Linked DNA regions of Homo sapiens: all the other regions are linked to region 2. Evidence: promoter capture Hi-C in 16 types of primary human blood cells and fetal thymus (Javierre and others, 2016). All regions are on one chromosome and are shown on one strand. The core of a region is centred on a gene start or on the middle of the fragment in contact, and the rest is flanking DNA. Distances in the headings are between cores, read along the strand shown. Region 1 overlaps FAM98A (family with sequence similarity 98 member A). Region 2 holds the start of CRIM1 (cysteine rich transmembrane BMP regulator 1). Region 3 overlaps LINC01317 (long intergenic non-protein coding RNA 1317).

Region 1 (3,535 bases), core at 602-3,101, 2.8 Mb before region 2:
TTGTCCTGGATCTCACTGTGATGTATCTAACGATGCATTCTTATGATAAACAAAATGTCTTAACAAAGTGTTCTCTTTCTCCCCAAGCATAACAGAATAATAATGCATTTACTCTACATGCTATAGATGCTTCTAGAATCTGGTAATCCTAAAAGAAAAATATCCCAGTATCTAGTTCTAGCCATCAATCTAGGATCTTACATTTAACATCTTACAAAATATAGGAAGTTCATACATTCTATGCTTGTGGTCTCCATTTCTCTGTATCCCAGTAATAGGGTCTTTTCAGCATCCACGAATTTTTAAGTTACATGACTTTATTCTGGTATTTCAACTTCTGAATCACCTCTAAAAACAACGGACGGAAAAAAAATCTTGGCTTCTTTACAAATTTTTTACATTTACAAAAACTTGCAACTTTCAGCTTTAGTATTGATAATGTTCAGTTGACAATACCTCAATGTTATTTTTATACTTTGTACCTAAAAGTGAATGTTTACTTACTGTTAGTTGCTTGCACGTTTTCCTCTAGTTTACAGAGCACTCTTAATTCAGACACCAGCCAAGCACAGAGTTTGGTAAACTCGGGGGAACTGGCTCCAGCAGAGACTGCCTGAGAGAGCGCTCCATCTTCCAACAATGGGCCCTTGTAACTGGTGAGCAAGAAATTACATTTCAGAAGAAAATACAATCATACCTAATATATTACAGATAAAACATATCTATGTCTTATTTATATAAGCAATAATTTAATAAAGATAAGTTAGTACTTATCTTTATTTTAAATGGACAAATATAAACATAATTTAGAACTATACTGAACCATTACAAAAAGCAGCTAAATGGTAGCTGCATTTCAACCTTTCAAAATGTAGGTGAATATCTAACAGAATTGCATATACTACTAAATTATGTCAACTTCTGTACATTTACTAAAAGCTTCCATTGTAAAAAGATTTATTTTCTTACTGTAATTGAATTGAGTATTAAAAGCAAATTAACAAGTAATAGCTAATTATACTGTAACTTATTTCAGAAATAAAACTTAGGTTATCTTTTCTAAAAATTTTCCAGAAAACAACTAGATTATGTTTTTATTTTGAGATGAGGTCTTGCACTGTCACATAGGCTGAAGTGCAGTGAAGGCACAAGCCACCAAACCTGGCTTTTTTTTTATTTTTTATAAAATAGCCAGGGGTCTTACTATGTTGCCCAGGCTTAGTTAGGTTTTTAATGACTTCCTTTAAAAGTAAAAACTTTCCAGTTAACCATTTATATCATTTTTATAAATTTAATGCCAGTTAAGACTAGTAAGACATTCTAGTACCAAAGAAACGTCAGGTTAGGTTAATAAATATTGGCAGTTAATGAACTGGCGCATCTGAATCCTAATCCTTTGTAAGTGATTCCAATATAATTTTAAAAAATTTAAAAATGTTCAAACATTCATAAAAGATGACAGTCATAATGAACTCCAATCACCAATATTCTAAAATATAAGATTTCTGTCACTCCAAGTAATCTTAAATACATATTATTCAGATTGCTTTACATTCTCTTAAATATTGATAATAATGCTTACTTAAGATGATACAATAAATATGCTTAAGATAATATAATGTTTAGGCCAGGCGTGGTGGCTCACGCCTGTAATCCCAGCACTTTGGGAGGCCGAGGCAGGTGGATCACGAGGTCAGGAGACCAAGACGATCCTGGCTAACACGATGAAACCCCATCTCTAATAAAAATACAAAAAAATTAACCAGGCATGGTGGAGGGCGCCTGTAGTCTCAGCTACTCAGGAGGCTGAGGCAGGAGAATGGCTTGAATCCAGGAGGCAGAGCTTGCAGTTAGCCGAGATCGCACTACTGCACTCCAGCCTGGGCGACAGAGCAAGACTCCGTATCAAAAAAAAAAAAAAAAAAAGATAATATAATGTTGAGAACTACAGGTATGTTAGAGAAATGACAGTTCTCAAACCCTTTAAAATATGATTATAGGTTTATACAGTATATGCAACAAAATGAAAACAAATCATACATAAAAAAATGAGATCACATGTAGTCTGGCATCTAGATTTATAAACTATGTATTATTAGACACTGAAATCAAAAGACTAGGCCTAGAAGTTTCTCCTTGAGTTTCACATTTAGACTTCATTAGTTTATTCAACAAGTAGTTACTGAATTCCTACTGTGTGCCAGGTAAGAGATAAAAGATGACTATTTGCCAGGATCAGTGGCATACACCTGTAGTCCCAGCTACTCCGGAGCCTGAAGTGGGAGGATCGCTTGAGGCTAGGAGTTCGAGACCAGCCTGGTCACCAGAGCAAGACCTCATCTCTTAATAAATAAATAAATAGAAAAGGTAGTCATTTAATTCTAATATTTCTCAGTTAATCCTTTAAAAGTACATTTCAGTTAATTAAGGCTGACTTTTAATATTTGAATGCCACCAAACTAAGTAGTTAAGGTTAAAATTTATAACAGTTTTCAGAAAATCCATGGTTTACATTACACTCTATGTCAAGTAGTTATGTGATTACAATTACTACAGTAACAATTACTTGTACAGTACCCAAAAGAATAAAAAGTTAAAAAAAGGAGGGGGAAAAAAAAAGACAATAATGGGAAGAAACAGCATCCGTGGCCAATTCTTAAGTGACCACTATCCATGCAGAAAGACTACATTTAATAAGGTCTACCCCCTTCCTTTCATTCCACTCATTCCACTACAGTACTATAGTGTCATTTATTCCAGAAAGAAGCTTCTAGGATTTCATTTCCTTTCCCAGTAAAGGGACCCTCCTCAGGGCTCCTCACAGCATATTTTCCCAGTATCCTGTGAACCCCTCTTCCACCTCACCTTGTACTCTAAGGGCCTAACACTGCCACAAAGAAACTGTTCCTAAAAAAGTCCTAATGAATGAATGGTTTCATGTGTGAACAAGCGATTCAGTCTGAGATGTCAACTAAAGAGACTATTTTGCTGAATGACTTTAACATATGCCCTAATGAAAGAAAGAAGCCCCCTAAAGTCTGGAATATTTATAAAAATTCAGAGCAAGTTTCCAAGAAAAGAACAATAGTATTTCACTGTGACAAAGACAGATGATAAGCAAGACTACTTCGTTCCTAAAAATTTCTACTAGGGTAGTAAATTATTCAAATAGGCAGACTTTGGGAATCCTCAAGGTGTTTTTTCCTAAAGAAAGGTTTCTCTCAAAGGTTTCCTTGTCATGGAAAAACCTAAGAGAAAATTTTGATAAAGAACTTGTTACTTAGAAATACAGCTAGCTAAATCTGTACTTTGTTTTGATACCGTACCTGTAGGTAAGTATCTAACCATACAATTTGTTTCTGGAACCACATTTAGCCCAAGAGGGTCCACGTTCTCAAGTTTAATAGAGTACACTGATCTGGGTGACCCAGTGAGATAACAAACCCTATTTCCAGCTTCTAGATACTGATGAATTATGGTTGAATAAATATCAGGAGAAGGAGAGACACAATGCAAAACAAATACGCAGGTTCTT
Region 2 (3,045 bases), core at 546-3,045:
ACTTAACACTTATTATGGACCCACAGGGTATGAGGGCCTTTGGAGATCATCTAATCGGACTTCCCACCCAACTACAGGAATCATTTCATTGCAACAACTCTTTAAACCCGTCTAGAAAATGCAATGCTCTCTCCCCTTTTCCACGGTTGAACATCTTCCTCATGGCCCTATAATAATCAATGATAATTAATGAGCCTCTTCCTCTCCTTGGACAAAGAAATATGATAGGAGAAATGTTTAGTTTGCTGATGCCCATCATGGGGGAATAGTCCACTGGTAACTCTGGCTTTTGGGTTCAGGATTAGACAGAGTGGTTAAACTAAAATATTTATCGTAAGTATGAATTTGTTCCACAAACATAACATTTCAAAGGTAGCTTTGTTTCCTCTTTCCTTGCACTGCCAGCTATTAACTTTCGGTTCATTAGTCACGATTTTCAGAATCCACTTGGCTGCCACCTTCCTGCAGCCAGACCATCTTGGATCAGAGGGTGGGCCAGCCATTCCCACGTCACACCTGCCACGGGATCGATTTTTTCCCCCATTGACCACAGTCACTTTTTGTCAATTAATTAATGTTATTCACCTGGTACCCATCTTGTGAATGGTAGGTCACTACGGAGCGGATTACTACTTCATATCCCATCAATGACAGAGCCATCATTACGAAAACCTTTTCTGACAACCACTGAAGAGAAACCATCTCCACACCGTGCATTTTGCATCACTTCCGTTGCTTCTTTACCTGATTTATCACAAAGACTATGTACCACACATCTTCTTTATTAATGCATTGACAATCAGTGAAGACAATGAAAACCCACCACTTTTGTCCGTGAACTGAGAAAGAAAATGGCAATGTCATATGGCATTAATGATGCATGAGATCTATGGGTGTAGTGTCACGTCTAGGCGTGTAGTAATCCAGTCTTCGGCCTTACTCCAGGGAGAAAGATTCAGCTTTGTTACTTTCCAGTCACTCTCTCCCGTAACACAGCACCTTGGCACAGAAAGCAGAGCGACAAAACCCAGAATGAGGACAGTTAAAATTCAACTCAAGCTACAGCCATCCCAACGGTCCTCCCCAGCTCCCGCGGAATATTTACCAAGACCGTTTAAAGCACTTAATTAATTCACTTCAGCTTCGCTGGAGAGGTCTCAGGGTTCCCGAGACTCCATTACATAATATCTTTCACAAAGTCTATTCCCAGCTCGAATGGAAGATGGATTCTCATCCAGTGTGCGGAGGTTCCATGCCTTTGCTTCCCTTTCCCGGAGTTCGATCCGGCGATACCCTCCCGAGGCTGCAGCCATCGCCCCGGCCCCGAGCTTCTGGGGTACCCGCCACTCTTCGAACTCCAATCTGGCCCCGAAGGTGCAGCCGCCTCGCCCTCCTGGCTCCCAGGCCGGCCGCTGCGGCCACGGTGCCAGCGAGCGCCCGGGACACCGCGACTCTCGCTGCTCGCTGGGTGCGCCCCAAGCCCATCCGCAGCGCACCCGCGGCGCCGGGGCCAGAGCCGCAGCTCGGTGGCACGGCCGGCTCGGTGCGCCGGGCTCGGGGAGGAGGAGATCGGGAAGAGGTGGAGGCGTGTGAGGGAGGGAGGAAGGGCCCGGCCGCCCGAGAGGGGGAGGGGGAGGCGGAGGGGGCCGGCCGGGCCGGGGAGGGGGGGCAGCCAATGAGCGGCGCGCGGCGCGTGGGGGTGGGGGGAAGGTCTGGGGGAGGAGGTAGGATGGGGGAGGGCGCAGCCCGAGCGGCTGAGGCTCCAGCCATAAACAAGCGCCCGGAGGAGCGGCGCAGGAGTGAGGCGAGCGGGGCGCGCGGAGCGGACGCCGCGGATCTTGTGCTGCGCCACCGCGCCCACTCGGCAGCTCGGGAGGCGGGGACCGGCCCGGAGGCTGCGCCGCTGCGGGGCCGGCCGACTCGGAGGAGGAGAGGGAGGAGGCGCCGCCGGCCCGGGCTGGAGCCGAGCGCAGCAGCCACCGCCGCCGCCGCGCCAGAAGTTTGGGTTGAACCGGAGCTGCCGGGAGGAAACTTTTTTCTTTTTTCCCCCTCCCTCCCGGGAGGAGGAGGAGGAGGAGGAGGGGAAGCTGCCGCCGGCGCCAAGGCTCGTGGGCTCGGGGTCGGCGCGGCCCGCAGAAGGGGCGGGGGCCTCGCCCCGCGAGGGGAGGCGCGCCCCGGGGGCCCCGAGAGGGGCGGTGAGGACCGCGGGCTGCTGGTGCGGCGGCGGCGGCGCGTGTGCCCCGCGCAGGGGAGGGCGCCCGCCCCGCTCCCGGCCCGGCTGCGAGGAGGAGGCGGCGGCGGCGCAGGAGGATGTACTTGGTGGCGGGGGACAGGGGGTTGGCCGGCTGCGGGCACCTCCTGGTCTCGCTGCTGGGGCTGCTGCTGCTGCTGGCGCGCTCCGGCACCCGGGCGCTGGTCTGCCTGCCCTGTGACGAGTCCAAGTGCGAGGAGCCCAGGAACTGCCCGGGGAGCATCGTGCAGGGCGTCTGCGGCTGCTGCTACACGTGCGCCAGCCAGAGGAACGAGAGCTGCGGCGGCACCTTCGGGATTTACGGAACCTGCGACCGGGGGCTGCGTTGTGTCATCCGCCCCCCGCTCAATGGCGACTCCCTCACCGAGTACGAAGCGGGCGTTTGCGAAGGTACGGCCGCCCGCTGCGGGCCCCCTCCCACCTGGCCTGCGCCGCCCCCTCGGCGCTGGTTGTGCCGAACAAAGTTTGGGCGAGACTTTCTGGAGGAAAGAGGGCTCTGCGGGAAGAGGGGCGGCCGCCGCCCCCAGGAGAGTGCCCCCGCGGCCCTGCGTTCCCTCTCCTTGTTCCCCCCGACGCTTAGGCAGTCGCGGGCGAGGTTGGGTATGGTGGGTGGGGGCGAGCGAGTGGAGGATCGCCCCTGTCCCCGCGCAGACGCGCACACGTGTGGCCGTTCCTGCTGGGACTGGGTGGCCCGGCCTTGCTCCCCGAGGTGGGGGCGCCGCGGGCGGGGGGCACTGCAGATTCTGCCGCGCGCGAGCCCCTCGGGGAGCCCGGCCCTACCGCCCTCCCCGCAC
Region 3 (3,301 bases), core at 382-2,881, 2.3 Mb before region 2:
GGCTAACACGGTGAAACCCCGTCTCTACTAAAAATACAAAAAAATGAGCTGGGTGTGGTGGCAGGCGCCTGTAATCCCAGCTACTCAGGAGACTGAGGCAGGAGAATGGTGTGAACCCGGGAGGCAGAGCTTGCAGTGAGCCGAGATGGCACCACTGCACTCCAGCCTGGGCGACAGAGCGAGATTCTGTCTCAAAAAAAAAAAAAAAAAAAAAAATGGACGAACTGTTAAGGTGCAATTTTCTAAGCCTTAAAAAATGACAAGTATTTTGCATAGATGTAATTGATTGACTATGCACAAAATGGGAAATTGGACACAGGCTAATTTCATGTTCAGATTTATGTAGAAATGTATTCTTTCCATTTTTAACAAGGAATATATGTTATGCTATTTTGTTTTTTTTTAACTTTTAAGTTCGGGGGAACATGTGCAGGCTGGATATATAGGTAAACTTGTATCATGGGGGTTTGTTGTACATATTATTTCATCACCCAATTATTAAGCCTAATACCCATTAGGTGTGTTTTCTGAACCTGTCCTTCCTCCCAACCTCCACCTTCCAACAGCCTCAAGTGTCCATTGATCCCCTCTTTGTGTCCATGTCTTCTCATCATTTAGCTCCCACTTATAAGTAAGAACACATGGTATTTGGTTCTCTGTTCCTGCATTAATTTGCTAAGGATAATGGATTCCAGCTCCATCCATGTTCTTGCAAAGGACATGATTTTGTTCTTTTTTATGGCTGAGAAGTATCCTATGGTGTATATGTACCACATTTTCTTTATCCAGTCTACGATTGATGGGCATTTAAGTTGATTCCACGTCTTTGCTATTGTGAATAGGGCCGCAATGAACATAAACACGCATGTGTGTTTATAATAGAACAATTTACATTCCTTTGGGTATATACCCCACATTGGAATTTTGGGAGGAATTGCAGGGTCTAATGGTAATTCTGATTTGAGGTCTTTGAAGAGTTGTCACCGTTTTCCATAATGATTGAACTAATTTACACTCCCACCAGCAGTGTATAAGCATCGCTTTTTCTCCACAACCTCATCAGCACTTGTTATTTTTTAACTTTTTAATAGTAGCCATTCTGACTTTTATGAGATGGTATTTCACTGTGATTTTGACTTGCATAGAAATGCTACTGATTTTTGTATCTTGACTTTGTATGCTGCAACTTTACTAAATTTGTTTGTAAGTCCTAACAAGTTTGTTGGTGGAGTCTTTAGAGAAACTCTTTTAGTCTTTATAATATGTTGTCTCACAAAATTTGATAATTATTAAATGTAACATTTTATTAACAATGCATCTCTTAATGAGATGAATATACATTTTTAAAAAGTGTTGTTTACATGGGCAAGCATTGTTTATTAGTAGAATGGGAGAAGGTTTAGTATCAGATTTATTCCTAAATTAATAATTTGTTTGTTTTTCATAGTTTAAAGACTAAGGACATGTATTTATATTAACAAGCAGATGGGAATAGCAGAAGGATGGTTATATTAATTTTGTCCAATTACATGAACTTCAGCATTATATATCTGAATCACATCATCTATAATTTAAAATAAATAATTTTAAATTACCAACTTATTTTTGAAAGTAGTGAACTGGGAGGAGACTGACCTGCCAAATGTTTTTATCAATTGGCTACTACTAACAATTGCATGAATACTAAATCCAGGAAAAAAATAGCATAAATTTACAAAAATTAATTTATATACATATTCTTGTTGCAGAAATGTAAATAGGATGTTAAATCAAAGACTTTCAAACATAGAAACATGTCACTCAGATAAAATTCTGTGGGAGAAGTGAAATGGAAATACAAATTAAGGTTAAAAACGAGTCATGTGAAATATTAATCATTTAAAGAGGAACTTATTCACGTATTTTTATAATGCATGGCACATATTAAATTGCCATAGTAAGTATATTAAATATATTACATTTTTAAAGTGATATATCAGTTTTAAATTTTCAATATTTACAACATGGTAAAAATTATATTCTTAGCATTTACTTGATCTTCCAGTGAGAAATTAGATGTTAATCTAAAATTTTCTTTACTCTTTTTTTTCTTTGAGACGGAGTCTCGCTCTGTCACCCAAGCTGGAGTGCAGTGGCACAATCTCGGCTCACTGCAAGCTCTGCCTCCTGGGTTCATGCCATTCTCCTGCCTCAGCCTCCGGAGTAGCTGGTACTACAGGTGCCTGCCACCACGCCCAGCTAATTTTTTTGTATTTTTAGTAGAGATGGGGTTTCACCGTGTTAGCCAGGATGGTCTTGATCTGACCTCGTGAACCGCCCACCTCGGCCTCCCAAAGTGCTAGGATTACAGGCGTGAGCCAACATGCCCGGTCTAAAATTTTCTTTCCTCTTAGCTACACTCTTTCCAGAACCTTGTACTATTATTTTTAACTTTGCTGTTTATTCTTTCCAGGCATTGGGCTCCAGTACTGTTTTCATATAATCAGGTTCCATAGTCCATTGTACATGTTTCCATTACCTCAAGGCCTGTTCATCTCTTCCTTCCTTCCTTATTCATTTCTTGCTTATGCCCTTAGTATTTTGCGCCATTCACAATTAATCATACTTCTTGGAAAAGTTTCAATTTTGAAACTGGATAAAAATTATTTTTTCAGATAAGTCTGCATTTCTCAGTTGATGATAGTTAAAAAAAAGCAAATATTGACTGGTCTGACTGTATGTTAAATAGTTTTAGTAAATGTTTATGTACTAAATATTTTAAATAAAAGCAGAGGTTATTAGAGTGTATAAATATCAAGATTTAATTGTATACTGTCTACAAGAAAACCACTTTTTATTTATTTATTTAGAGACATAGTTTCCCTCCGTCACCCAGGCTGGAATGCAGTGGCGTGGTCTGCAACCTCTGCCTCCTGGGTTCAAACAATTCTTGTGCCTTTGACCTCCTGAGTAGCTGGGATTATAGGTGCACCCCACCACACCCAGCTAATTTTTTTGTATTATTAGTACAGATGGGGTTTCACCATGTTAGCCAGGCTGGTCTCAAACTCCTGGCCTCAAGTGATCTGCCTGCCTTGGCCTCCCAAAGTTTTGGGATTACAGGCGTGAGCCACTGCGCCTGGTCGAAAACCACCTGTAATATAAAAATACAGACGGGATACAAAAGAAATGATAGGGAAAGATATTCCATACCAACACTAATCATAATAAAGTTATATAAAAAATTAATCAACAATACATAAGAATACAATATTATGTACACAATAACCTATAAAAATGCATGAAGGAAAAACTGATAGAA

The links. The method cuts DNA at HindIII sites, captures the fragments that hold promoters and counts their contacts. A CHiCAGO score of 5 or more calls a contact.
Region 1: a contact is called between a fragment that was not itself captured here and the fragment with the promoter of CRIM1 in region 2, in 1 of 17 cell types (M2 macrophages). The highest score is 5.9, in M2 macrophages.
Region 3: a fragment that was not itself captured here is called in contact with the fragment with the promoter of CRIM1 in region 2 in 1 of 17 cell types (total CD4 T cells); the score reaches 5.7 in total CD4 T cells.

What each region holds. Positions count from the first base shown.
Region 1 is chr2:33,594,985-33,598,519 of GRCh38, forward strand. It overlaps FAM98A (family with sequence similarity 98 member A), which reads right to left. Exons shown (of 8, transcript NM_015475.5): 2 at 505-653. Among named protein-coding and RNA genes, the nearest start is that of FAM98A, 2.5 kb to the right of the region's middle. The HindIII fragment of the contact is 1,828 bases long and covers 938-2,765 here.
Region 2 is chr2:36,353,983-36,357,027 of GRCh38, forward strand. CRIM1 (cysteine rich transmembrane BMP regulator 1) reads left to right here and starts at 1,796. Exons shown (of 17, transcript NM_016441.3): 1 at 1,796-2,641. The coding sequence starts at 2,311. CRIM1-DT (CRIM1 divergent transcript) reads right to left here and starts at 1,588. Exons shown (of 2, transcript NR_037631.1): 1 at 1,106-1,588; 2 at 767-999. The HindIII fragment of the contact is 11,087 bases long and covers 1-3,045 here.
Region 3 is chr2:34,086,308-34,089,608 of GRCh38, forward strand. All of the region lies in intron 4 of LINC01317 (long intergenic non-protein coding RNA 1317), which reads left to right. Among named protein-coding and RNA genes, the nearest start is that of LINC01318, 21 kb to the left of the region's middle. The HindIII fragment of the contact is 5,945 bases long and covers 1-3,301 here.